Linked DNA regions of Homo sapiens: all the other regions are linked to region 1. Evidence: promoter capture Hi-C in human tissues and cell types (Jung and others, 2019). All regions are on one chromosome and are shown on one strand. Each heading gives the region's core, a stretch centred on a gene start or on the middle of the fragment in contact. The rest is flanking DNA. Distances are from core to core; before and after follow the strand shown.

Evidence for each region. The method cuts DNA at HindIII sites, captures the fragments that hold promoters and counts their contacts. A contact is called where the count stands out against the background at its distance.
Region 2: a contact is called between the fragment with the promoter of SRL here and the fragment with the promoter of ANKS3 in region 1, in 1 of the 25 tissues and cell types used here (spleen).
Region 3: a contact is called between a fragment that was not itself captured here and the fragment with the promoter of ANKS3 in region 1, in 1 of the 25 tissues and cell types used here (dorsolateral prefrontal cortex).
Region 4: the fragment with the promoter of CORO7 here is called in contact with the fragment with the promoter of ANKS3 in region 1 in 1 of the 25 tissues and cell types used here (dorsolateral prefrontal cortex).
Region 5: a contact is called between a fragment that was not itself captured here and the fragment with the promoter of ANKS3 in region 1, in 1 of the 25 tissues and cell types used here (dorsolateral prefrontal cortex).
Region 6: a fragment that was not itself captured here is called in contact with the fragment with the promoter of ANKS3 in region 1 in 1 of the 25 tissues and cell types used here (mesendoderm cells).
Region 7: a contact is called between a fragment that was not itself captured here and the fragment with the promoter of ANKS3 in region 1, in 1 of the 25 tissues and cell types used here (dorsolateral prefrontal cortex).

The regions. Positions count from the first base shown.
Region 1 is chr16:4,732,574-4,735,807 of GRCh38, forward strand. It overlaps ANKS3 (ankyrin repeat and sterile alpha motif domain containing 3), which reads right to left and starts at 1,698. Exons shown (of 18, transcript NM_133450.4): 1 at 1,365-1,698. DNAAF8 (dynein axonemal assembly factor 8) reads left to right here and starts at 1,964. Exons shown (of 10, transcript NM_139170.3): 1 at 1,964-2,125. RefSeq lists silencers at 1,484-1,543, 1,594-1,823. The HindIII fragment of the contact is 29,621 bases long and covers 1-3,234 here.
Region 2 is chr16:4,240,486-4,243,719 of GRCh38, forward strand. It overlaps SRL (sarcalumenin), which reads right to left and starts at 1,595. Exons shown (of 6, transcript NM_001098814.2): 1 at 1,522-1,595. The coding sequence starts at 1,582. The HindIII fragment of the contact is 19,223 bases long and covers 1-3,234 here.
Region 3 is chr16:5,083,842-5,087,075 of GRCh38, forward strand. It overlaps ALG1 (ALG1 chitobiosyldiphosphodolichol beta-mannosyltransferase), which reads left to right. Exons shown (of 13, transcript NM_019109.5): 13 at 909-3,234. The coding sequence ends at 1,040. It overlaps EEF2KMT (eukaryotic elongation factor 2 lysine methyltransferase), which reads right to left. Exons shown (of 8, transcript NM_201400.4): 8 at 443-1,891. The coding sequence ends at 1,791. Among named protein-coding and RNA genes, the nearest start is that of EEF2KMT, 12 kb to the right of the region's middle. RefSeq lists an enhancer at 387-1,299. The HindIII fragment of the contact is 5,127 bases long and covers 1-3,234 here.
Region 4 is chr16:4,415,016-4,418,249 of GRCh38, forward strand. It overlaps CORO7 (coronin 7), which reads right to left and starts at 1,581. Exons shown (of 28, transcript NM_024535.5): 1 at 1,444-1,581. The coding sequence starts at 1,503. It overlaps CORO7-PAM16 (CORO7-PAM16 readthrough), which reads right to left and starts at 1,581. Exons shown (of 31, transcript NM_001201479.2): 1 at 1,444-1,581. The coding sequence starts at 1,503. It overlaps LOC124903635 (a long non-coding RNA gene), which reads right to left. Exons shown (of 3, transcript XR_007064963.1): 3 at 1,710-1,946. The HindIII fragment of the contact is 38,450 bases long and covers 1-3,234 here.
Region 5 is chr16:5,023,633-5,026,866 of GRCh38, forward strand. NAGPA (N-acetylglucosamine-1-phosphodiester alpha-N-acetylglucosaminidase) reads right to left here. Exons shown (of 10, transcript NM_016256.4): 10 at 1,212-2,053. The coding sequence ends at 1,846. Among named protein-coding and RNA genes, the nearest start is that of NAGPA-AS1, 8.5 kb to the right of the region's middle. RefSeq lists a silencer at 1,776-2,070. The HindIII fragment of the contact is 7,059 bases long and covers 1-3,234 here.
Region 6 is chr16:4,458,497-4,461,730 of GRCh38, forward strand. NMRAL1 (NmrA like redox sensor 1) reads right to left here. Exons shown (of 6, transcript NM_020677.6): 6 at 3,198-3,234. Among named protein-coding and RNA genes, the nearest start is that of NMRAL1, 15 kb to the right of the region's middle. RefSeq lists a silencer at 1,039-1,239. The HindIII fragment of the contact is 5,078 bases long and covers 1-3,234 here.
Region 7 is chr16:4,998,963-5,002,196 of GRCh38, forward strand. SEC14L5 (SEC14 like lipid binding 5) reads left to right here. Exons shown (of 16, transcript NM_014692.2): 9 at 1,693-1,781; 10 at 1,893-1,963. Among named protein-coding and RNA genes, the nearest start is that of NAGPA-AS1, 33 kb to the right of the region's middle. RefSeq lists a silencer at 2,265-2,456. The HindIII fragment of the contact is 4,501 bases long and covers 1-3,234 here.

The DNA.
Region 1 (3,234 bases), core at 448-2,947:
CAGGAGGCTGAGGCAAGAGAATCGCTTGAGCCTGGGAGGCGATTGCAGTGAGCCGAGCTCAAGCCACTGCACTCCAGCCTGGGCAACAGAGCGAAATTCTGTCTCAAAAAAAAAAACAAAAAAAAAACACTAAAGTGAAAACTAAAATGTCCCATCCCGAGTGGTGTGGTGTAAAGTAGCATTAGAGATAAGACGTTTTAGTTTTCATTCAACTTTTTGGTTCTGTCCATTCTGAAAATGCTAAGTATCTGTTACCTTTACAGTGAATCCTAAAGAAAATGTGGTACTTAGACACAATGGAGTACTATTCAGCCATAAAAAAAGAATGAGATCCTATCATTTGCAAAAACATGGATGGAAGCGGAGATCGTTATGTTTAGTGAAATAAGCCAGGCACAGAAAGATAAATATTGCATGTTCTCAATTATTTGTGGTTATCTAAAAATCAAAACAACTGAACTCATGGACATAGAAAGTAGAAGGATGGTTACTTCTAGTGTAACCAAGGCTGGGAAGGGTAGTGGAGGGTGGGGATGCTTAATGGATACAAAAAAAACAGAATGAATAAGATCTAGTATTTGATCAAGCCACTGCACTCCAGCCTGGGCGACAAAGCGAGACTCCGTCTCAAAAAAAAAAAAAAAAAAAAAAAGATCTAGTATTTGACCGCACAACAGGGTGACTATAGTCAATATAATCTAATTGCACATTTTATTTATTTATTATTATTTTTTTTGAGACATAATCTCACTCTGTTACCCAGGCTAGAGTGCAGCGGCGTGATCTCGGCTCAATGCAACCTCCGCCTCCTGGGTTCAAGCGATTCTCCTGCCTCAGCTTCCCGAGTAGCTGAGATTACAGGTATGAGCCACCATGCCAGCCTAGTTTTCGTATGTTTAGTAGAGACGAAGTGTCCCCATGTTGGCCAGGCTGGTCTCAAATCCTTGACTTCAGGTGATCCGCCCGCCTTTGCCTCCCAAAGTGCTAGGATTACAGGCGTGAGTGAGCCACCGCGCCCGGCTGCACATTTAAAAATAATTCAAAGAGTATAATCATATTGTTTGTAACACAAAGGATAAATGCTTGAAGGGATGGAGACCCCCATTTTACATGTGATTATTACGAACTGCATGCCTGTATCAAAATCTCTCATATACGCCATAAATATATACACCTACTACGTACCCACAAAAATTAAAAAATTTTTAAAAATCTTAACAAATGTGATGCTGGTGGTAACTGTCACGCCCACAGAGGAGGTCTGTGAAAGCACCCAGGCACCCCCTCTCGCCCCGTGGAACCGCATCGCAAAGGTAGCTCACTGGCCCCGGGGCGGGTCCCTGGCCGACAAACCCGTAACTCACAGCAGTGACGCTTCCCGACGCCCCCCGGCCACATCCCCACAGGAACGCTACGGCGCACAGGGCATTACTGTGCCCCCACCACAACCACATAAAGAAAATGTGGGGGCTCGGTCCTCCAGTCACGCGGCGAGCAAGTGCAGCGCGGGACGCCCGAGCGCCGGGTCTAGGCGGGCTGCAGGTGCCGGCAAGTGCTGGGGCCGGGCCGCCGCGGAACCCACCTGTGCTGGGCCTCAGGCCTTGCGCCGCCCTCGGGCTGCCGTCGCCAACCCCCCCCAAACAGCTCGCCGCCACGCTCCCTCGCCGGGGCACCGCCCCCGGCACCCGCCCCGGAAGTAGTTGCGGGAGGGCGCGGAGCACGCCGGGAAGCTCGCGGGTCGGCACCGGGACAGCTCCCGGGCGCCGTGGAATGCACACGTCCCGCACCCGGACCTTCCGGTCAGCTTCCCGGCTCGCTGTCTGATGCCCGCGGTAGCCAATGAGCTAGTGGTGTTTGTCCTGCTCCGTCCCCGCCCTCCAGGGGAACCAATCCCATTGCAGGAGAGGCAGGACGCGCAAAGGCCCGAAAGAGGAGCTGGGCGGGGTGGGGGGAAGGCGGAGGCAGTCTAGTAATGTAAAGCTCCGCTGAGAGGGAGAGTGCTGAAGAAGGGGACAGCCTCTGTACCTGCGGCGCGGCCCGAGGGGCGGACGCGAGCGGAGTGACGCGCTGGAGGCTGTTTATAGCGCTGTCAGGACAGCGCGGGGAGTGGAGGCAGAGGCCTGAGGTGAGGGGCCTCGGGCCTGCTGCGCCTGCAGGGAGTTGAACAAAACGCGGGGAAATACGGGCTGGGGGTGGGTGAGAGGAGGAGCGATGGGCTTTCCACTTCCACAGCTTTAAAATTTAAAAGCTCGACCCGGGAGGCTGTTGGCGTCTGGTTGCCATAACAACCGGCAGCCTCGTGGCAGGCCGGCTGGGGGCGGGGCTCTGAGAACCGGGGCGGGGCTGTGGCGGGGCTAACAGGCTGCAGCTGAGAAACCCACCCCGAGACGGAGCCGGAAGGCCGTTATTCAGAGGCGGCTCCGAGCCTCCCCTTCGCCTTCTGGATGCTCTGAGCTCCTCAACTTGGCGTTCAGGGCCCTGCATTGTCTGGTCCGTTTTCACCGGAGAGTCCAGCAACTGACACTTTCTTCCCTTAAACCTGTTGGGCGGTTCATTCCTTTGAGCTACTGTACATGCTCTTCCTTCTGCCGGTAATGCCGTTCCCTCCCCTATTGTCTTGTCCGCCTGAAGGGTTTATCAGAGTCTCTGGAGGCCCTCTTCATCCCGACGATTCTGTTGCCCTAAGAAATACTGTGCCCTGAATTGCGGAACAGAGCTCTAGTTACAAAAAACACCCGCTGGCTGTGTGCACCAGATGCGTCCCCAACCCGCTGCTCCCAGTTCAGAGTGCACCAAGCACCTGCCCTATTCCCAGAAGTACAGAGGAAGCAAGCAGCCCCCAATTCACATCTCCTGCCGCTGCCCTGATTGGGGATGAACGGGCACTGACTGCAGGGCCAAAGCCACAGCGGCCTCTCGAGCTGCAGAGTTCTCCTGACACTGGCTCTAGAGGACCCTCACCCCCCAGCTCTCAAGCTCAAGCTCCCCAGCCCCCTGAATAACAGGACCATCTCCTTTAAGACTCTAAGATATAAATGCAGGGGCTGGTCAGAGTAGTGACTCCAAAAAAAAAAAAAAATCACTTAGTGACTCCAAACTGTCAGCCAGGCGCGATGGCACATGCCTGTAATCCCAGCACTTTGGGAGGCTGAGGCAAGAGGATCACTTGAGGCCAGGAGTTTGAGACCAGCCTGGGCAACAGGGAGACTCCATCTCTACAAAAAATAAAAATGT
Region 2 (3,234 bases), core at 345-2,844, 490 kb before region 1:
GGGACAGAGGGAAGCTTTACGCCGGAGGTTGGGCCAGGGGCAGACGCACGCTGTGGGACCCAGGAAGGAAAGACAGCAGAGAGAAGGGACCTTTGCACAAGCACCTGCCTGCGTCCTTTCCCCACGACAAGAGCCCCCAGCGAGGCCTGCAGAACATTCCAGATGACCAGTTCCCTCGGTGGGAGGAAAGATAAAGGATGTCCCTAAAAGGCCAAAAATTCCTGGGGCCCAGTGTGTAGCAGCCCAGCAGCTGGGGCTGGGGGGCAGCACAGGAGCGGCCACGAAGGGAGAGGGTGGCAGCGGCTTGGGGCTCCGGATCCAATTACGCGGCTGTTTCCATACTTAGCCGCCTGACAGCCGCCTGGAATACTCAGCACTCAAGCCGCTGCAGCCCTGCAGAGCCCAAATTAACTCAAGGACAGACAAGGGCAGGGCCCAGCAGCACATGCAGTGGCTGGAGCCCCCCACCTTACATCTTGAGTCCCCGAGAAATAGCTTTTGTTCCCACCCACTGCCTGCTCTCCCTGCAGGGACTGTGCCCCTGCAACCCCCTATTCAACCTCAAAGACCTGAGAGGCTGGACTCTGGGCCTCTCCAGTCCCAGGTACGGACCTAGGCTCAGAGCCCAGCTTGGGGGAAGACTGCCGAGTCATGAAAAGACTCGGTGGGCAGTCCGGATCCTAGGGGGATCCCCGGAGCACCTCCCTAAAAGCATTCCCTCGGGGAACCTGGCCTCAGGAACCTTAGGAACAAGAGAGGTGGCAAAACAATCTGGCATCTCCTCCATAGCCTATAGATAACCCCCATGCTGCAACCCAAGCCACCACCTCTGCTACCCAAAGTGCTGAGATGTCAAAGGGAAGCCTCAGCACACAGAGCCAAGCCCCTTTTCTGATGGAAGCCCCCACCCCGAGCAGAGGCTCTACTCCAGAACGGGCCCCGTTCCTCTTCTGAATTGCATCCAATGCTGTTTCCAGCCCAACCGCCAACTCTATTTCCGATCTTATCCCAAACCAATTCCAATTCTATCTCACTGCTCCCAAAACGGTCCCCACCTTTGCCCACTGTATCCCCTTCTGTCCACGCAAACCCAGTTCTCTTACCCGAGTGGGGCCTCCGCCTTATATCCCACCAGGTGGGAGGGTCACCTCAACGACCTCCAGCTCCCAGACTGTGCTATTTTGTCCGTCTCAGAGGCTCCCCCGTCTCGACTTTGAGGGCCCTCTTTCCCACATCTACTGGCCAGACTCCTCTCTGACCCTGGCTCACAGCTCAGCTCTGTTTGCCGTTCCCACTTCCTCTGGCCTTCCTGAGGGCCCCGCAACTGTGCTGCTATTCTCCAGCACCCAGCTCTTTCTCTGAGGCCCCAGGCCCGGGGAAAAGAGAAGGGTAAGAAGACACCAGCCAAGAGCCAGGGTTTGCCATCAGCCCCGACCCCCTACCCAACCCATGGTAGACAGAAAACCTTGGAGGAAGCGTGGGGGACCAGTCTGGGCTGGGTCATGCTGGGAGGGGCCCTACCTGCTTGTCCTGAGAACAGGAGCGAGGCCAGGAGGCAGCCGAGCAGGACCAGCGCCCTCATGGTGACTGCCAAGAGAGCCCAGCTGCTCCTCGCCTCTATTTATACGGCCGGCCGTGGCAGCAGGCGGTGGAGGGGGGAGAGGGGTCACACAGTCACCAGGGCAACTAGGAGGGTGTGATGGGGAAGAAGCCCGGACCCCAGAAGGCTGTGCAGAGGCTCAGGCTGCGCCACTGCTGTCCCAGCTGCCAGGCCCCAGAAGGCAGGGCCGTGGCTGGATTCTCTTCCCCCGAACCCCTGCAGCCCTGGGATCACATGACATGGGTCACAGGGCGTGGGTGACAGGCATAAAATGGAGCATCCCTTGGGCTCAGGCGGTGGAGCTGGGAAGCTGAGTCTTCCCAGAACTTGCAATAACTTGACCTGAAGTCTCGGCAGGTTAAGGACCTTGACACGCCTGCACTGGAAGGAGGAAGTTGTAAGGCCACGCAAAAGAAATCCTATTTAACAGCCACTGATCCACATGCTAGAGAGTGGTCAGCTACGGCAAACCCGCAACATGTGACCTCTGAGGTCCAAGGCTGCAGCCCTGGAACAACCTTCCCAGCCTCTGGAAGAGAGAGAGCACAGACCAGAGGGAGAGGGGCACACTGAGACACAAGCTGAGGCTACGGTGTAAACTGGAGGATGGAGCAACAGATATCCATTTCCAATGGCCCAGGGGTTCCAGAACATTCAGTCACCTCTGCAAAGTGCTTTTTTGTTTATTTGTTTTTGATAGAGGATCTCGCTCTGTCACCCAGGCTGGACTGCAGTGGCACAATCATCACTCACTGCACTCGACCTCCCAGGCTCAATCAATCCTCCCAACTCAGCCTCCCAAGTAGCTAGGACAGTAGTGCCACCATGCTGTACTAATTTTTTAAAATTTTTTGTAGATGGCCCAGAGAGCCAGTTGTAAGAAGCCAAGGGAAAGCAGACACTTGCTTGTCTGGTCGGGGTACAGTGTCACTGTGTGGGGAAGAGGTAGAAGCCAGCCTTGGAGGAAAGGAACTAAATCAGGGCCAGGCACAGTGGCTCACACCTGTAATCCCAGCACTTTGGGAGGCCGAGGCGGGTGGATCACCTGAGGTCAGGAGATTGAGACCAGCCTGGCCAACATGGTGAAACCCCATCTCCACTAAAAATACAAAAATTACTGGGTGTGGTGGCGGGTGCCTATAATCCCAGCTCCTCAGGAGGCTGAGGCAGGAGAATCACTTGATCCCAGGAGGCGAAGGTTGCCATGAGCCAAGATTGCACCACTGACTCTAGCCTGGGCAACAGAGCGAGACTCTGTCTCAAAAAAAAAAAAAAAAAAAAAAAGAATTAGGCATCTGGTAGGCACTTGACTTTTTTTTTTTTTTTAATCTTTTTTAAGAGACAGGGTCTCTGTCACCCTGGCTGGAGTAGTGACACGATCATAGCTCACTGCAGCCTTGAACTCCTGGGCTCAAGCCACCCTCTCACCTCAACCTCCGAGGGGCTGGGAATACAGGTGTGCACCACATCTGGCTAATTTTTTTGTTTTTTGCAAACATGGTCTTCCTATGTCACTCGGGCTGGTCTCCAACTCCTGGGCTCAAGCAATCTTCCTGTCTCGACCTCCCAAAGCACTACGATTACAGGCATGAGCTACTGCTTTTTCAAAGACAAGGTCTTGGGACTTTTCCTCT
Region 3 (3,234 bases), core at 1-2,500, 350 kb after region 1:
GCCAGGGTGGGACCATGTGGGGTCTGGCGGAAAAGCTAGGGAGGGAGCAGAGGTCACAGAGGCTGGCCCACTCTGCTGTCCCGTTTCGGTACAGTAGGCTCGGGAAAGTTAAGACACACCCCCACCTGCCCTCTGGATTTATGGAGCTGACACTCCACAAATGATGCTGGAGCTGGGTGGGCCGGGCTGCGGTTGAGGAAGTGATCAGGATCACGTAGGTGGGCGGGCAAAGGGAGCTTCTGGGACCAGCCTTGAAAGATGGGTGGAATTCTGCAAAGGTTACTTGTTTCTTATTGCAAAAAGTAATACATCATTCTTGCCAACAGAATGATTGGCAGGATTTTCAGTAAAGGTCCAGGTCGGAAGTCGTTTAGACTGGGTTCCCCAGTCTCTGTCAGAACCATGGTACTCTGTTGGGGTGTGAAAGTAGCCACAGATCATCTGTAGATTAAGGGGTGTGGCTTTGTTCCAATAAAACTTTATTTACAAACACAGGCTGTGGGCTGGATTTGGCCTGCAGGCTGTAGTTTGTGATCCTTGATTCAGACAGTTTAGCAAGGCTGCAAAGAACACCGACACCCCCTTGTTACCCACAGATGGGTGAGACTGCGTTGGCCAGAGGCCGAGAGGAGGGTGCTCACAGGGGAATGGGCAGCACGTAGAGGCCGGGAGGTGCTCCAGGGCACCAAGTGTGGGAAAGTGGGACATGCGGGGAAGTTTCCAGAAACTGTGATGTCAAGTTGGAGGCGGAGTGCTGCTGGGGTGTGAAGGGTCTCGAGTCCAAGTGAGGGAGTTAGGGACTTGGGAGGGGTTGTTGTTGGGTCGGGGACCTGGGGTCAGCCAGGTGGTGACCTGGGATGGGGTGGGGACAGGCAATGAGGTAAGCTCTGCTCTTTATTTTTTTGCAGATGCTTTTCTCAAACTTTCCTGATCCTGCGGGCAAGCTAAACCAGTTCCGGAAGAACCTGCGGGAGTCGCAGCAGCTCCGATGGGATGAGAGCTGGGTGCAGACTGTGCTCCCTTTGGTTATGGACACATAACTCCTGGGCCAGAGGCTAAAACCCCAGGACCCCTGCTGTCCTTCCCGCAGCTTCTTCTTGGAGTCTCAGGGCAAACCCTTTCGAGCAGCACCTCCCAGTGGCCAGAAGCTGAAATGACAGCAGTGGTACTGCCTGGTAAAAGAATTGGTTCTGTGACCCGGGAAGCTTTGGTTGGCCTTGATTTCTTCTCTGGAGGCTTGGAAACGCTTCCTCTCTTCTTCTGTTCTTCACGCCCCATGCCCCTGCTAGCGTATTACTGTTCTGTGACTTCCCTGTGACCTCTGCAGAACTCCTCATCCTGCGTTTGGTCTCCAGGTGTCCCCTTTCTGCCGTGTTCCTAACATTTTGATTCCTGTCTTGAAAAAAGCACCTGCTGCACCGTAAGCCCAGGGATGTGGCAGCTGCAGTGGGCTTGGCTTTGTGAGGAACTGAGTGTGTCCACGTTGGGGGAACATCATACTTGATACACACGTTTTTATTTGCACAAAGAAAATGCTATTTTTGGAGCCAGAATTTTCATGTCTGATTTATGGTGATTTTCTTAAGAACCAGAACTGCTGGCAGAAAGGGGGCACCCACACGCTTAGATAGCCGATGTCTTATTAGAGGGCAGTTTGTGGTTCCTGATTTGGAAATTAACATTCTCCAAACATTCCAGTCCAATGAAAGTTTTATCCGCTTTCCCATATAAAAATTCTTCCCATGAGAGTGACTTGATTCTCACAATCCCGTTGGAGTCGTGTGTGAGTCCTACAGGGTGAGATTCAGCATTGCCATCTCCAAGTGCTCTTCGTAGGGAAACAGTTTCTGCTCATGACGAGGTTCCACTTCCCATCTGATCCCGGCCCGGCCTGGAAACAGAGCACATGTGTTTGAGGATGGCGGTGTTTGGGGACAGGACATGAGGGTATTGTGTGGGGCTGCTAGGACAGGCCTGGCGGGGTAGGGGGGTGTCCAAGTCAGTTTACTTGGTTCACAGGTTCCCAGGCCCACCCAGGTGCCTAGAATTGGCCTCCAGGATGGGACCAGAAAGCTGGTTTTGCATAGAAATGGCTAGCAGCAGGCACCGTGCCGCTGTCCACTCTCTGCCTGTGTCTGCCCCAGCACTTGGCACAGCGGGACAGAAGCAGAGATCTGAATAGTCAACCCACTCTTCACAAAGCTTAGAAAGCGGCCGGGCACAGTGGCTCATGCCTGTAATCCCAACACTTTGGGAGGCCAAGGCGGGCGGATCACTTGAGGTCAGGAGTTCGAGACCAGCCTGGCCAACATGGTGAAATCCCATCTCTACAAAAATACAGAAATTAGCCAGGCATGATGGCGAGTGCCTGTAATCCCAGCTACTTGGGAGGCTGAGGTGGGAGAATTGCTTGAACCCAGGAGGTGGAGGTTGCAGTGAGCTGAGATTGTGCCACTGCACTCCAGCCTGAGTGACAGGGTGAGACTAAGTCTCAAAAAAAAAAAAAAAAAACCACACGCACCACACACACACCCACACACACACACAGCTTAGAAGGGGCTGCTGTTCTCATAAGCACAGATGTCTGAAGAGCCGTTAGCCAGAATGATTCTTTTTTTTTGTTTTGAGATATGATCTTGTTCTGTCACCCAGGCTGGAGTGCAGTGGCACAGTCATTGCTCACTACAGCCTCGACTCCTGGGCTCTAGCAATCCTCCCACTTCCTGAGTAGCTGGGATGACAGGTGCGTGCCACCATGCCAGTAATTTTTTTATTTTGTAGAGATGGGGTCCTGAACGCATGGCCTCAAGTGATGCTCCTGCCTCAGCCTCTTTTATTATTTGTTTTTAGACGAAGTTTTACTCTGTTCCCCAGGCTGGAGTGCAGTGGCACAATCTCAGCTCACTGCAACGCCTCCCAGGTTCAAGTGATTCTCCTGCCTCAGTCTCCCGAGTAGCTTTGACTATAGGCGTGCACCACCACGCCTGGCTAATTTTTGTGTTTTTAGTAGAGATGGGGTTTCACCATGTGGGCCAGGCTGGTCTTGAACTCGACCTCCCGTGATCTGCTCACCTCAGCCTCCCAAAGCCTCAGCCTCTTACAGTGTTGGGATTACAGGCGTGAGACACTGTGACCCGGGACGATTTTCAATCACAGTTTTTTGTTACGAGTGGAAAATGCGTATTTATAAGAATGAAGTAGTACAGACATGAATGTGTAGAAATCTCTATAATC
Region 4 (3,234 bases), core at 331-2,830, 320 kb before region 1:
CACACCTGGCTAATTTTTTTTTCTTTAACTTGTTGTTCAGAGGGGTTTCGCAATGTTGCCCAGGCTGGTCTCGAACTCCTGAGCTCAAAGCAGTCCACCCAAAGTACTGGGATTACCGTGAGTCATGGTATCCAGCCCCTCCCCCTAACTTTTCAATGGCTCTGCACTGCAATCAGAATAAAACCCAACTTCTTCCGGTGGCCCTTGGGTTCTGCAGGACCACTCTGGACTCATCTGTCACCATACTGCTCCGGCCATCCCCTCCATCCACTCATGCTCACTTTCCATTTCTCCACCAGGCTCTTTCTCAATTCTCACCCTTCTGGCCTCAGCTAAAATGCCATCTACTCCAGGCAGCCTTTCCTGACCACGCTACTGAGACTGGCCCCCTCCATTCTCCATCCCAGTCCCTCATGTGTGTTCTTCAATGTCGTTATGAAAACCTCCAATGCTCTTGTTTGTCTGCTTGCTGTCTCCCTCATGAGGCTACAAGTGCCACAGGGGAAGGAAAATGCCGTTGTGTTCACCGGGATGTCTCCAGCAGCTTAGCACAGCATAAAGTGGAAGCAGAGGAAATATAGTCCACACTACAAAAACGGAACCTCTACCCAGACTGCCCTGACTTGCTCTGGGACCCTGATGGGGTCACTTGAGGTCAACTCCTAGGCCCAGTTATCGGAGGACACTCCCAGGCCTTACAAATAACACGGAAAGCGGAAGAGCAGAGCTGACATCGTTTCCAAGGCGCACCCCTCATCAGTCCTCCTGCCGTTTCGGGGGTCCGAAGGGTCTCCCGGCACCTGGCTCAGCAATTCTTTGGGGCTCCACCTGCTCAGGCTTCCCCAGGCCCCACCCAGCCGTGGCAGCATCACCGAGATAAAGAAAGAGCTTGCGCCAGCGGCGAGAGGAGGAAGCACCGGCGGAAACCCGAGGGAGGGGCGCGTGCGGCCGAGGGGCTCCCTCCCCACCACTGACACACTTGGGCTCGCCGGGGCCAGAGGAGAGAGGGGCGTCTCCCCACAGCCCAGCCAGGGGCAGGGGCGACCCGGGGCGGCAGGGAGGAGGAGCCAGGCGCCGGCAGCGCCCCGAGCCCCGGCTCCCGGCGAGGCCGACCGGAAGCTGGGAAGGCAGGCGGCCTCGCAGGCCTGGGCCCCGGCTAGGAGGGCTGCGCCGCCTCGGGGGTCCCGGGGCGAGGTGGGCGAGGCGGGCAGACCGCCAGGGTCACCGAGCGCCAGAGCGAGTCACGGGAGTGCCGGACTCTGCCCTCCGGCGGCGACGAAACGGCCCGGACGCCGGGGCCCTGGCCTGAAGGGGGGTTCCCCGGGGATGGAGGTCTCGGGGTTCCAGACGGCCCTGGAGGGCACCCCTGTGGGGTCCGGGCAGGGGGAGGGGCAGCCGGACGGGGCCCGAGGCGACAGCGCCCGGTCCTCGGGCCGGACTCACCTCGCGGCGGGGCGGCCGAGCCTCGGTGTGCCGGAACTTGGACACCCTGAAGCGGTTCATGGCGACGGGCACGGCGGCGGACGCGTCTTCGAGGACCCCGGGCGTCGGGTCTCAGGTGCACGCTGAGCAACCGCGACTCCCGCTGCCTCGGCCCCACCCGGGACCCAATGCCGCGGTCACGCCCCCGGCGCGCCCCACTGCCAATCGCAGCCGTCTCCGGCCCCCTGGGCCACGCCCCCAAGCCCCTCTCCTTTCGCGCGCGCACCACCGGTCCCGCCTCCCGGCCAATCCAGGTACGGCCGCCCCGCGAGGCCACGCCCTGATACCGAGGGGACGGACTGGCGCGGGTGGGAGGTCACGTGGGGCGCAGCTGTCAGCCCACGTCTCCTGCGGTGCTTGCTTGCGTGGGGTCTCGGCTGCAGCATTCGCGATTTTGTGTGCAGGATTTGCTGTGGAGTCTTTGCGGTGTACCTAGCACGCCTTCCAGCACTATCTACCTCTTCCTGTAGAGAGGGGAGAAATTAGCTCCATTTCAGAGACAGGAAACCCCCGGCTAAAGGAGAGTGTAAACTGTCGGTCCCCAGGTCACACCAGTGGTAAGAGGCAGAGGGGGAACAGGGGCCCAGGTCTAAAGCAAATCCCTGTCCACCGGGCCTACTCAAAAGCCTCTGCATCCGGCCAGGCGCTCTGCATCCGGCCAGGCGCGGTGGCTCAGGTCTGTAATCCCGAACTTTGGGAGACTGAGGCAGGAGTATCCCTTGAGCCCAAGAGGTCGAGGCTGCAGTTATCTGTGACCGTGCCACTGCACTCCAGCCTGGGAGACAGAAAGAGACCCTGCCTCTAAAAATAATAATAATAATAGCTTTTAATTTTTCTTTAGTATTTATTCATTTATTTGACACGGAGTCCCTGTCACCCAGGCTGGAGTGCAGTGGCGCGATCTCAGCTCACTGCACCCTCTGCCTCGCGGGTTCAAGCAATTCTCTTGCCTCAGCCTCCCGAATAGCTGGGATTACAGGCGCCTGCCACCGCGCCCAACTAATTTTTTATTTTTAGTAAGAGACGGGGTTTCACCATGATGGTCAGGCTGGTCTCGAACGAGACTCAAGCAGTCCTCCCAACTTGGCCTGCCAAAGTGTGGGGATTATAGGAATGAGCCAACGCACCCAGCTGATTCTTGCATTTCTAAGGTTTGAAAAGCAATGCTTACATTTTATCTTAGTTCGGGCAGAAGTGTATTTACTGTGAACCAAAGTCACTTGTGGTTTATTGAAAAGGCTTTTTGTTTGTTTGTTTTGAGACAGAGTCTCACTCTGTTGCCCAGGCTGGAGTGCAGTGGTGTCATCTCAGCTCACTGCAACCTCCACCTCCTGAGTTCAAGCGATTCTCCTGCTTCAGCCTCCCAAGCAGCTGGGATTACAGGTGTGCGCCACTACTCCTAATTTTTGTATTTTTAGTAGAGATGGGATTTTGCCATGTTGGCCAGGCTGGTCTCAAACTCCTGACCTCAAGTGATCCACCTGCCTCAGCCTCCCAAAGTGCTGGGATTAGAGGCATAAGCCACTGCGCCCAGTCCAAAAAGGTTTTTAGAAAATCATCAGGTTGGCCGGGCGCGGTAGCTCACGCCTGTAATCCCAGCACTTTGGGAGGCCAAGGTGGGTGGATCACCAGGTCAGGAGTTCAAGACCAGCCTGGCCAAGATGGTGAAACCCTGTCTGTCCTAAAAATATAAAAATTAGCTGGGCGTGGTGGTGGGTGCTTGTAATCCCAGCTACTTGGGAGGCTGAGGCA
Region 5 (3,234 bases), core at 456-2,955, 290 kb after region 1:
TCAGGATGGTCATCATGGCCATCATCGTGGCCGTGGCGTCAGACTGAGAGTGATCCCTGTAGATTCCAGGATCTGCAGCCAGGCTTGGGAACTGCTCTTAGGAATACACCTGAATGACTCTAAGGCGCCTGACTTTGCAGCTCCTTTTTAAGAGGCAGAGCCCGTTTCCCTTCTCCCTGAATCTGAGCTGGCCTGGTGACTTGTGCAGGCGCCCACCAGGGCTGCCAGATCTTTAAAGAGAAACCAGCAAGCTGGAATTTTTGTCAATCTCTGGACTTTTTGAGATGGAGTCTTGCTCTGTTGCCCAGGCTGGAGTGCAGCGGTGCGATCTCAGTTCACTGCAACCTCCACCTTCCGGGTTCAAGCGATTCTCCTGCCTCAGCCTCCTGAGTAACTGGATTACAGGCTCCCACCACCATGCCTGTTTTGTATTTTTAGTAGAGACGGGGTTTTGCCATGTTGGCCAGGCTAGTCTCGAACTCCTGACCTCAGGTGATCCGCCCACCTCAGCCTCCCAAAGTGCTGGGATTACAGGCGTGAGCCACTGCACCCCCGCCCTTATTTATTTTAAAATCTCTTGACTTTTAAACATGGGTAACTAATTTAAATTCTATAAAAATACTGTGAGGAAAAACTAAGCCCTGGTCATTCAAATTATGGTCAGGGGCCAGGCGCAGTGGCTCGAACCTGTAATCTCAGCACTTTGGGAGGCCATGGCAGGAGGTTGACTTGAGGCCAGGAGCTTGAGACCAGCCTGGGCAACTCAGTGACACCCCTTCTCTGCAAAAAAAATTTTAAAAATTAGCTGGGCATGGTGGCATGTGCCTATAGTCCCAGCTACTTGAGAGACTGAGGTGGGAGAATCACTTGAGCCCAGGAGGTCAAAATTGCAGTGAGCCGAGATCGTGCCATTGCACTCCAGCCAGGGCAACAGAGCGAGACCCTGTTTCTAAGAAAGACAAGAAGTGTGGTCTGGGGACCTGAAGCATCAGCATCGTCAGAGAGCTTGTTGGAAACGCAGAATTGCTGGCCTCACCCCAGGCCCAAATCTGCATTTTAACAAGATCTCCTCGTGACCTGTGGCATATTAAAGTTTGATAAGCACTGGATTAAACAAGCAGGGAACAGGACTTGGCTCCAGGATGCCGTTGTGACTTCTGTTTCAGGATAAGCCACACCTGCTAAGCCCTAGCAGTGACCTAAGTCCATGATTCAGAATCCACACACCACCTGGTGGCTCCTTTTATTATATCAATTTATTCAAGTGATTAAAAAACTTCTTGGCAGCAGGATGACAAAACAGGTCTGTAAACATGATCTCATCCCCCCATCCCTTCTTCCAAGGAGCTTCCTATGACAGGAAATCGAATTCTAGTTGGCAAATCCAGTGATGAGGTCTGTAGAAAAGGGGTCCCGTGTCACAGCCAGGAAGGCAGACTCGTCCCTTTAACCCACTCCAGCCAGGGGTGCTGGCCAGGATGTGCTGTTCTGTCATGACGTGGTCACTGAGTCTGGTTCGTTGGCAGCCCCTTCCCCAGGAGGAGGGAGACTCTTTGGCAGTGCGGCAGCCCTCCCGGGGGCACGGGCTTCTCGGCAGCAGACACAGGCAGGCCAGAAGCAGGCAGCTGAGCCTCTCCAGCGAGCATGGTATTGCTAGGGTTGCAGGTGCCCTGGCAGGTGGCCAGGTGAGGGGCTGAGGCACAAGTGCTATCAGGAACTTGGCTGCCCCACAGGGGCTGAGGACACCCAGATGGTCCACGCCAGTGGCCTTGAAATTTCCCCTGCAGAAGCCAGACCGTGGGGAAACAAGCTTTCGCGACGTGCCACCCCGGGCAGCTTGAGGCTTCAGTCCTTGAAGGGGTTGTGGGCGCCCCCTGGCTGCTCCTTCTCTGCGGCCAGAGGCTCCCCGTTCATCTCCTGCAGCGGGTGGTATGCATAGTCCCCATGCAGGCGCCGGTTCCTCTCTGCTCTGGACAGGAGCAAGGACAGGTTTGCTGCAGTGCTGATCAGCAGGAGGAAGGCCAGCGCCAGGGTGAGGGCTAGCCAGGCGGTCCTGCAGACAGGAGAGAAGCCCCAAGTGGGGGACTGCTGGGTGGGCTCAGGGCTTGGGTAGCACTGGAGGGGCTTCCCTCTACCCGGCATAGATAGCACTAAATCAGGTGCCTCCAGGGACCACACAGGGAATGTTATGAGCAAAATGGACTAGGTGGGGATGGGGCAACATTTAAGACATGTGCAGGGAACAGCAGAGGCAGTCATGACGTACAATGCAGGTCCGTGCTGCCCCATCTCCTGATTTTTTTTTTTTTTTTTTGAGACAGAGTCTCGCCCTGTCATCCAGGCTGGAGTGCAGTGGCATGATCTCAGCTCACTGCAATCTCCGCCTCCTGGCTTCAAACGATTCCCCTGCCTTGGACTCCCGAGTAGCTGGGACTACAGGCTCGAATCACCACGCCTGGCTAATTTTCGTATTTTCAGTAGAGACCAGGTTTCACCATGTTGGCCAGGCTGGTCTTGAACTCCTGACCTCAAGTGATCCACCTGCCTCGGCCTCCCAAAGTGCTAGGATTACAGGCGTGAGCCACCACGCCTGGCCTGATATTTTAAGAGAAGCCATTAAAAAGGTTTTTAAGGCTGGGCGTGGTGCTCATGCCTGCAATCCCAGCACTTTGTGAGGCTTAGGCGGGCGTATCACTTGAGGTCAGGAGTTCAAGACCAGCCTGGCCAACATGGCGAAATCCTGTCTCTACTAAAAATATGAAAATTAGCCGGGCACCTGTAATCCCAGCTACTCAGGAGACTGAGGCAGGAGAATTGCCTGAACCCAGGAGGCGGAGGTTGTGGTGAGCTGAGATCGCACCACTGCACTCCAGCCTAGGCAACAGAGTGAGACCCCGTCTCAAAAAAAAAAGTTTAAAAAAATGTGAATGTTACTGATTTTTAGATGCTGCTGATATATTTTAACTTTTTAAAAATTATGTAAGCCAAATAAAACACAGCTGGATGCTGGGCATGGGGGCTGGGAGGCCAAGGTGGGAGGATCACTTGAGCCCAGGACTGTGCACCTCGTCTGTGCAAAATAGTGAGATCCTATCTCTAAAAAACAGTAAGAAATAAAATTAGCCGGGCATGGGGGCACGTGCCTGTCGTCCTAGCTACTTGGGAGGCTGAGGCGGGAGGATCGCAGTGAGCTGACTGTACTACAGCACTTCTGCCTGGGTGACAGAATGAGGA
Region 6 (3,234 bases), core at 735-3,234, 270 kb before region 1:
ATTAGCTGGGAGTGGTGGCTTGGCACCTGTAGTCCCAGCTACTTAGAAATCTTGAGGTGGCAGGATTGCTTGAGCTGAGGAGTTCAAGGCTCCAGTGAGCTGTGATCATGCAACTCCACTCCAGTCTAGGTGACAGAGCCAGACCATGTCTCAAGAAAATAAAGTATTTCTAGGCCTGTGAGCCTGTGGGAGGTACATGTTTGGCACTTGCTTAAACATTAGGAGGGTGGGCCGGGCGTGGTGGCTCACACCTGTAATCCCAGCACTTTGGGAGGCCAAGGTGGGCGGATCATGAGGTCACGAGTTCAAGACCAGCCTAGCCAACATGGTGAAACCCTGTCTCTACTAAAAATACAAAAATTAGCCAGACTTGGTGGTGGGCGCCTGTAATCCGAGCTACTCGGCAGGCTGAGGCAGGAGATCCGCTTGAACCCTGGAGGTGGAGGTTGCAGTGAGCCAGGATTGCGCCACTGGATTCCAGCCTGGGTGACAGGGTGAGACTCCATCTCAAAAAAAACATTAGGAGGGTGGACAAGGCCAGCTCTCAGGCATTGGTCCTCAGCCCCATTCCCACCTCAGGCCTGGGACTGGGTTGTTTCCAACCTGAGCCCCCTCCTCACTCATAGTCCTTTGGGTTCTGGTGGCCTGGCCTTTGTTTCCTTCCCTGTCAACCAAACAGTGTGCAAGAATTCTCTCCAGGCCCACAGGCCTCCAGCTGCCCCTGCCCCTCTGTGTTTGTAGCACTGCAGAGCCGGCTCTGATGTGGAGGACGGCAGCTGCACGGCTCCTGGAAGAGGCTTGTTTCACACTCTTGCTTGTTAATAAATACTGTGCAGGTCTTATCTTTTAACTAGAAGTTCTGCTTATTTCTCATGACTCTTCAAGGGTCACAAATGGGCCAGGGGGGAACATAAAAGGCGAAGTGGGTCCATAGTTATATGGCCAAGGGCATGATCCACAGACCTTAGCTTACTGGTCACCTCCCCCGATGCTGCTCCTGTCCCCATTTATTTATCCTTCCTGTTTTGTTTTTTGCAGCCCTTATGTCAATTTGTTTTTTGGGTTTTGTTTTGTTTTTGAGACAGGCTTTCACTCTGTTGCCCTGGCTGGCTTGTGGTGGTGCAATCACAGCTCACCACAGCCTTGACCTCCTGGGCTCAAGTGATCCTCCTACCACAGCTTCCTGAGTAGCTGGGAGTACAGGCACATGCCACCACGCCTGCCACCATTTCTTCTGTTTTTTTGTTTTTGAGGCAGAGTCTCCCTCTGTCGCCCAGGCTGGAGTGCAGTGGTACAATCTCGGCTCACCACAACCTCCACCTCCTGGGTTCAGCTGATTCTCCTGCCTCAGCCTCCTGAGTAGCTGCCGGCACACGCCACCACGCCCAGCTAATTTTTGTATTTTTTGGTAGAGACAGGGTTTTGCCATGTTGACCAAGTTGGTTTCGAACTCCCAACCTCAACTGATCCACCTGCCTTGGCCTCCCAAAGTGCTGGGATTACAGGCATGAGCCACCACGCCTGGCCCTAGTTTCTTTTGTATTTCTTTTTTTTAGGTAGAGATGGGGTCTTGCTATGTTGCCCAGGCTGGTCTCGAACTCCTGAACTCAAGCCATCCTCCACCTCAGCGTCCCAAAGTGCCGGAATTACAGGCGTAGATACATAACTATTTATTGTGTGTTTCTATCAGGCTCTCCCACTAAATATAAGCTCCTCAAGGCAGGCAGCATAACTTTTTTTGCTACATTGTATTTAGGGCCCAGCATACTGGTAAATTGTCAAAGAAATGCTTCAGTCAATGGATAGAATGAATTTTTGTGCCTGGGGGTGCCAGAGCCAGGGTGGGGAAGTAAAAAAATAAAAACTGTGATGGTAGTCACACAAACCTAAATGTGTTGAATTGAAATTCACAGAACTGCTGGGCTCAGTGGCTCATACCTGTACGATAATCCCAGCTACTCAGGAGGTTGAGGTGGAAGGATCACTTAAGCCTGGGAGGTGAAGGCTGCAGTGAGCTATGACTGTGCCACTGCACTCCAGCCTGGGCAACAGAGCGAGACCTTGACTCTTTAAAAAAAAAAAAAAAAAAAAAAAAAATTGGCCAGGCGCGGTGGCTTATGCCTGTAATCCCAACACTTTGGAAGGCCGAGGCGGGCGGATCACGAGGTCAAGAGATCGAGACCATCCTGGACAATATGGTGAAACCCCGTCTCTACTAAAAATACAAAAATTAGCTGGACGTGATGGTGCATGCTTGTAATCCCAGCTACTCGGGAGGCTGAGGCAGGAGAATCACTTGAACCCAGGAGGTGGAGGCTGCAGTGAGCTGGGATCGTGCCACTGCACCCCAGCCTGGGTGACAGAGGGAGACTCCGTCTCAAAAAAAAAAAAAAAAAAAAAAATCGGAGCTGCCATGGACCACAAACTCTCAGGCAAATAACTGGTCTCTCGGCCTCTGACCCTCTTCTCTGTGACCCACCCCAGCAAGCAAGGTGGGTTGTTTCTCCTTCAGTTTTGCTTCCCAGCAGTGTCCAATTACTGTGCGTTGTGGACCACAGCTCTGCCACATCCGATTTTCCTTTTTCCAACCTGTTTGAAGTTCACCTGTGTCCAGGATGGTACCCCAAGGCCGGCTCCTTCCAGGACAAGGATGAGGAGAGAAAGGGAGAAGCCCATATCTCCCCCGCCTCCCTGCAGAGCCTGTCTCCAGTTCACATGTGCAGATGGCCTCACTAGCTCTGGAGATGAAAGGGGTGTGTCAGAAGCTCGGCTCCTGGGGCTCCTCTGTGTCCTGTGCTATGTCCCCGTCTGTGAATGAATTTCAAATGTGGGAACAGAGGCTGCTGGTCAGAGCTGTTCTGCTAGCTGAGGTCAGAACAGGCCACTTCACACCTGTCTGACTAAACACGTTTAGGTCACTCGTCCCAGTCACCAAGTGATCCCTTCAGCCTTGGACCCTCCCTTACTGCTGTGTTGGTACAGCCCTGGAGCCACCCCTTACTGCTGTGTTGGTACAACCCCGGGTCCCCTCACTTACTGCTGTGTTGGTACAGCCCTGGACCCCCCCCCCCCGCTCCAACTTACTGCTGTGTTGGTACAGCCCCGGACCCTCCCCAACCACTTACTGTTGTGTTGGTACACAACTACCACCCCAACCCAAGTCCTGGAAGCAGAGTCCTCTTCTCCTGGAAGCCATCTGGGAGAACAATGGCTTTATTCAGATGTTGGTGCCTC
Region 7 (3,234 bases), core at 267-2,766, 270 kb after region 1:
GGCGAAGTATTGGAGTCGCCCATCACGCATGCTGTCTGCTGAAGTTGAATGACGCGGCTCCTGCCTTTTTGTTTCAGTTCTCATACCCTAAACGAGTGTCCTTTTTGTGGCCTATTTAATGCCACATTGTTGCATTTTTGGGCTTTTCTTTGGTGACTTTGCTGTTTAAAATGCCTCTTCGTGTAGTGCAGAATTGCGCCTAGCTTTCCTAAGGATGAGCAAGTGGCCACGTGCTCCATGCAGAAAACACCCAAAGTGCTCCACTAGCTTCAGGCAGGCACCAGCTACAGGGCTGCTGGCCGTGAGTTCAATGCTGACAGATCAGCAATATGCATTCAAGTGTCCTTAAACAGAAACACAAGCCGGGCGCAGTGGCTCACACCTGTAATCAGAGCTCTCTGGGAAGCCAAAGCTGGAGGATCGCTTAAGCCCAGGAGTTCGAGACCAGCCTGGGCAACATAGTGAGCTCGCCCCCCTCCACCACATCTCCACAAAAAATACAAAAAAATTATCTGGGCATGGTGCTGCATGCCTGTGGTCCCAGCTACTTGGGAGGCTGAGGTGGGAGGATTGTTTAAGCTGGGGAGGTTCAGGCTGCAGTGAGTCGAGATCATGCCACTGCACTCCAGCCTGGGTGACAGAGTGAAACCCTGCCTCAAAGAACAAAGAGGCCAGGCATGGTGGGCTCACGTCTGTAATCCCAGCATTTTGGAAGGCCGAGGCGGCAGATCACTTGAGGCCAGGGGTTCGAGACCAGCCTGGCCAACATTGTGAAACCCTGTCTCTACTAAAAATACCAAAAATTAGCCAAGCGTGGTGGTGCATGCCGGTAGTCCCAGCTACCTGGGAGGCCGAGGTGTGAGAATCGCTTGAACCTGGGAGGCAGAGGTTGCAGTGAGCTGAGATTGCTCCACTGAACTCCAGCCTGGGTGATACAGTGAGACTCTGTCTCAAAAACCAACAAATCAACCAACTAACAAACCAACAGACAAAAAACACCACATAAAACAAGGTTATATATTGATTGGTTGACAAAAAGTATTATGGGGCCAGCTGCGGTGGCTCATGCCTGTGATCCCAACACTTTGGGAGGCTGAGGTGGGTGTACACCTGAGGTCAGGAGTTTGAGACCAGCCTGGCCAAGATGGTGAAACCCCATTTCTACTAAAAATACGAAAATTAGCCGGGTGCGGTGGTGGGCGCCTGTAATCCCAGCTACTCGGGAGGCTGAGGCAGGAAAATTGCTTGAACCTGGGAGGCCGAGGTTACAGTGAGCCGAGATCGCACCACTGCACTCCAGCCTGGGTGACAGAGCAAGACTCTGTCTCAAATAAATACATAAATAAAAATGTTTTGTAGAGAAGAGGTCTCATTATGTTGCCCAGGCTGGTCTCAAAACTCCTGTGTTCAAGCAATCCTCCTGCCTCTGCCCCCCAAAATGCTGGGGTAATAGGTGTGAGCCACTGTGCTGGCCCTTATCCTCATTGTAACACTTCTGTTTTTCTGCCTTTCACAATAAGGGGCGTCAGCCCCTCTTGGAAGCAGGCAGGGTGTTAGTAAGTGAAGGCTGGATCGGGCCTTGGTGGGTTGCAGCCTGAGGAGGTGAAGCTCTCACCTGCAGCTGTGACCTGCCCCTCGGAAGCAGTCCTCTAAATAACGGGCTCTTCTTTCTGCTTGGCCCCATCCACAAAGATGGCCGCCCCCTCTACATCCTCCGCCTGGGCCAGATGGACACCAAAGGCTTGATGAAGGCCGTGGGGGAGGAGGCGCTGCTGCGGCATGTGAGTCAGGGGCCTCGTTCCTGGACGCCGTGCCTGGGGCCGGGCCTGGGAAGGACTGTGTGGGGTAAAGCAGCGAGGCGGACGTTGAGCAGCACTGTCTCTCCCTTCCAGGTTCTCTCCGTCAACGAGGAAGGACAGAAGCGGTGTGAGGGGAGCACAAGGCAGCTGGGCCGTCCCATCAGGCAAACACCTGGGCTGGGCACAAATCCCCCCTAAACAGCAAAGACGGAGGGTGGAGAGGGGTCCACTGTGCATATGTGCTGGGCTGGGCAGCGTGCCAGGGGCTTCATTCTCCCCCAGTTTCTACAGTGGTCTTCTGGGCCTTGAGGCAGGGCCCGTAAGCATCCCCGTTTTCTATGCATGGGGAAACTGAGATTCAGAATGGTGGCCCCCATCGAAGCTTGTGAGCCGGTCAGGACAGAGCTGGATTTGAACCTGGGGTCCTGTCTGGCTTCTAGCTCGAAGACTTTATCCTCCCACTCCACTCAACAGTCTCCTTGACTTTGCTTTTTTTTTTTTTTTTTTTCTTTTTTGAAACGGAGTCTCGCTCTGTCGCCCAGGCTGGAGTGCAGCGGTGCAATCTCAGTTCACTGCAAGCTCTGCCTTCCGGGTTCAAGCGATTCTCCTGCCTCAGCCTCCAGAGTAGCTGGGACTACAGGCACCCGCCACCACGCCTGACTAATTTTTTTGTATTTTTAGTAGAGACAGGGTTTCACTGTGTTAGCCAGAATGGTCTCGGTCTCCTGACCTCGTGATCCGCCTGCCTCGGCCTCCCAAAGTGCTGGGATTACAGGCGTGAGCCACCACTCACAGCCTGACTTTGCTTTTTGAGATCAGCTCTCCACCACGAGTTCTCCCTTGGCTCTGTCATGGCACATCCAGGAACCCAGTGTCCTCTGCAGGAACCCACTGTCCTCTGACTCCCCCGCATTTCTGTTCCTGAACTGTTTCCCGGAGCCAGTACTTACGGTGGCATCGCCCCCAAAGGCAGCAAACCTTTCTGAGCAGCAGCTTCCTCTTCTGTAAAGTGGCTTTTTTTTTTCCTTTGAGACAGGCTCTCACTCTGTCACCCAAGCTGGAGTGCAGTGGTGCAATCACAGCTCACTGCGGCCTTGACCTGCTGGGCTCAAGCAGTCCTCCCACCTCAGCCTCCCAAGCAGCGGGGACTATAAATGTGCACCACCTTGCCCAGCTAATTTTTTTTTTTGCAGAGATGAGGTCTCACCCTGTTGCTCAGGCTGGTCTAAAACTCCTGGGCTGAAGTGATCCTCCCACCTTGGCCTTCCAAAGGGTTGGGATTACAGGCGTCAGCCTCTGTTCCCAGCCTGTAAAGTGGCTTTTACAAATGGATTCTCAAAAATAATAAGGGTTTAAAAATAATGCAAACACGGATCTTGCACTTGCTATGTAGCAGGTGCCCTTCTAAGCACCTTGATTCATTTCCTCCTCCTAA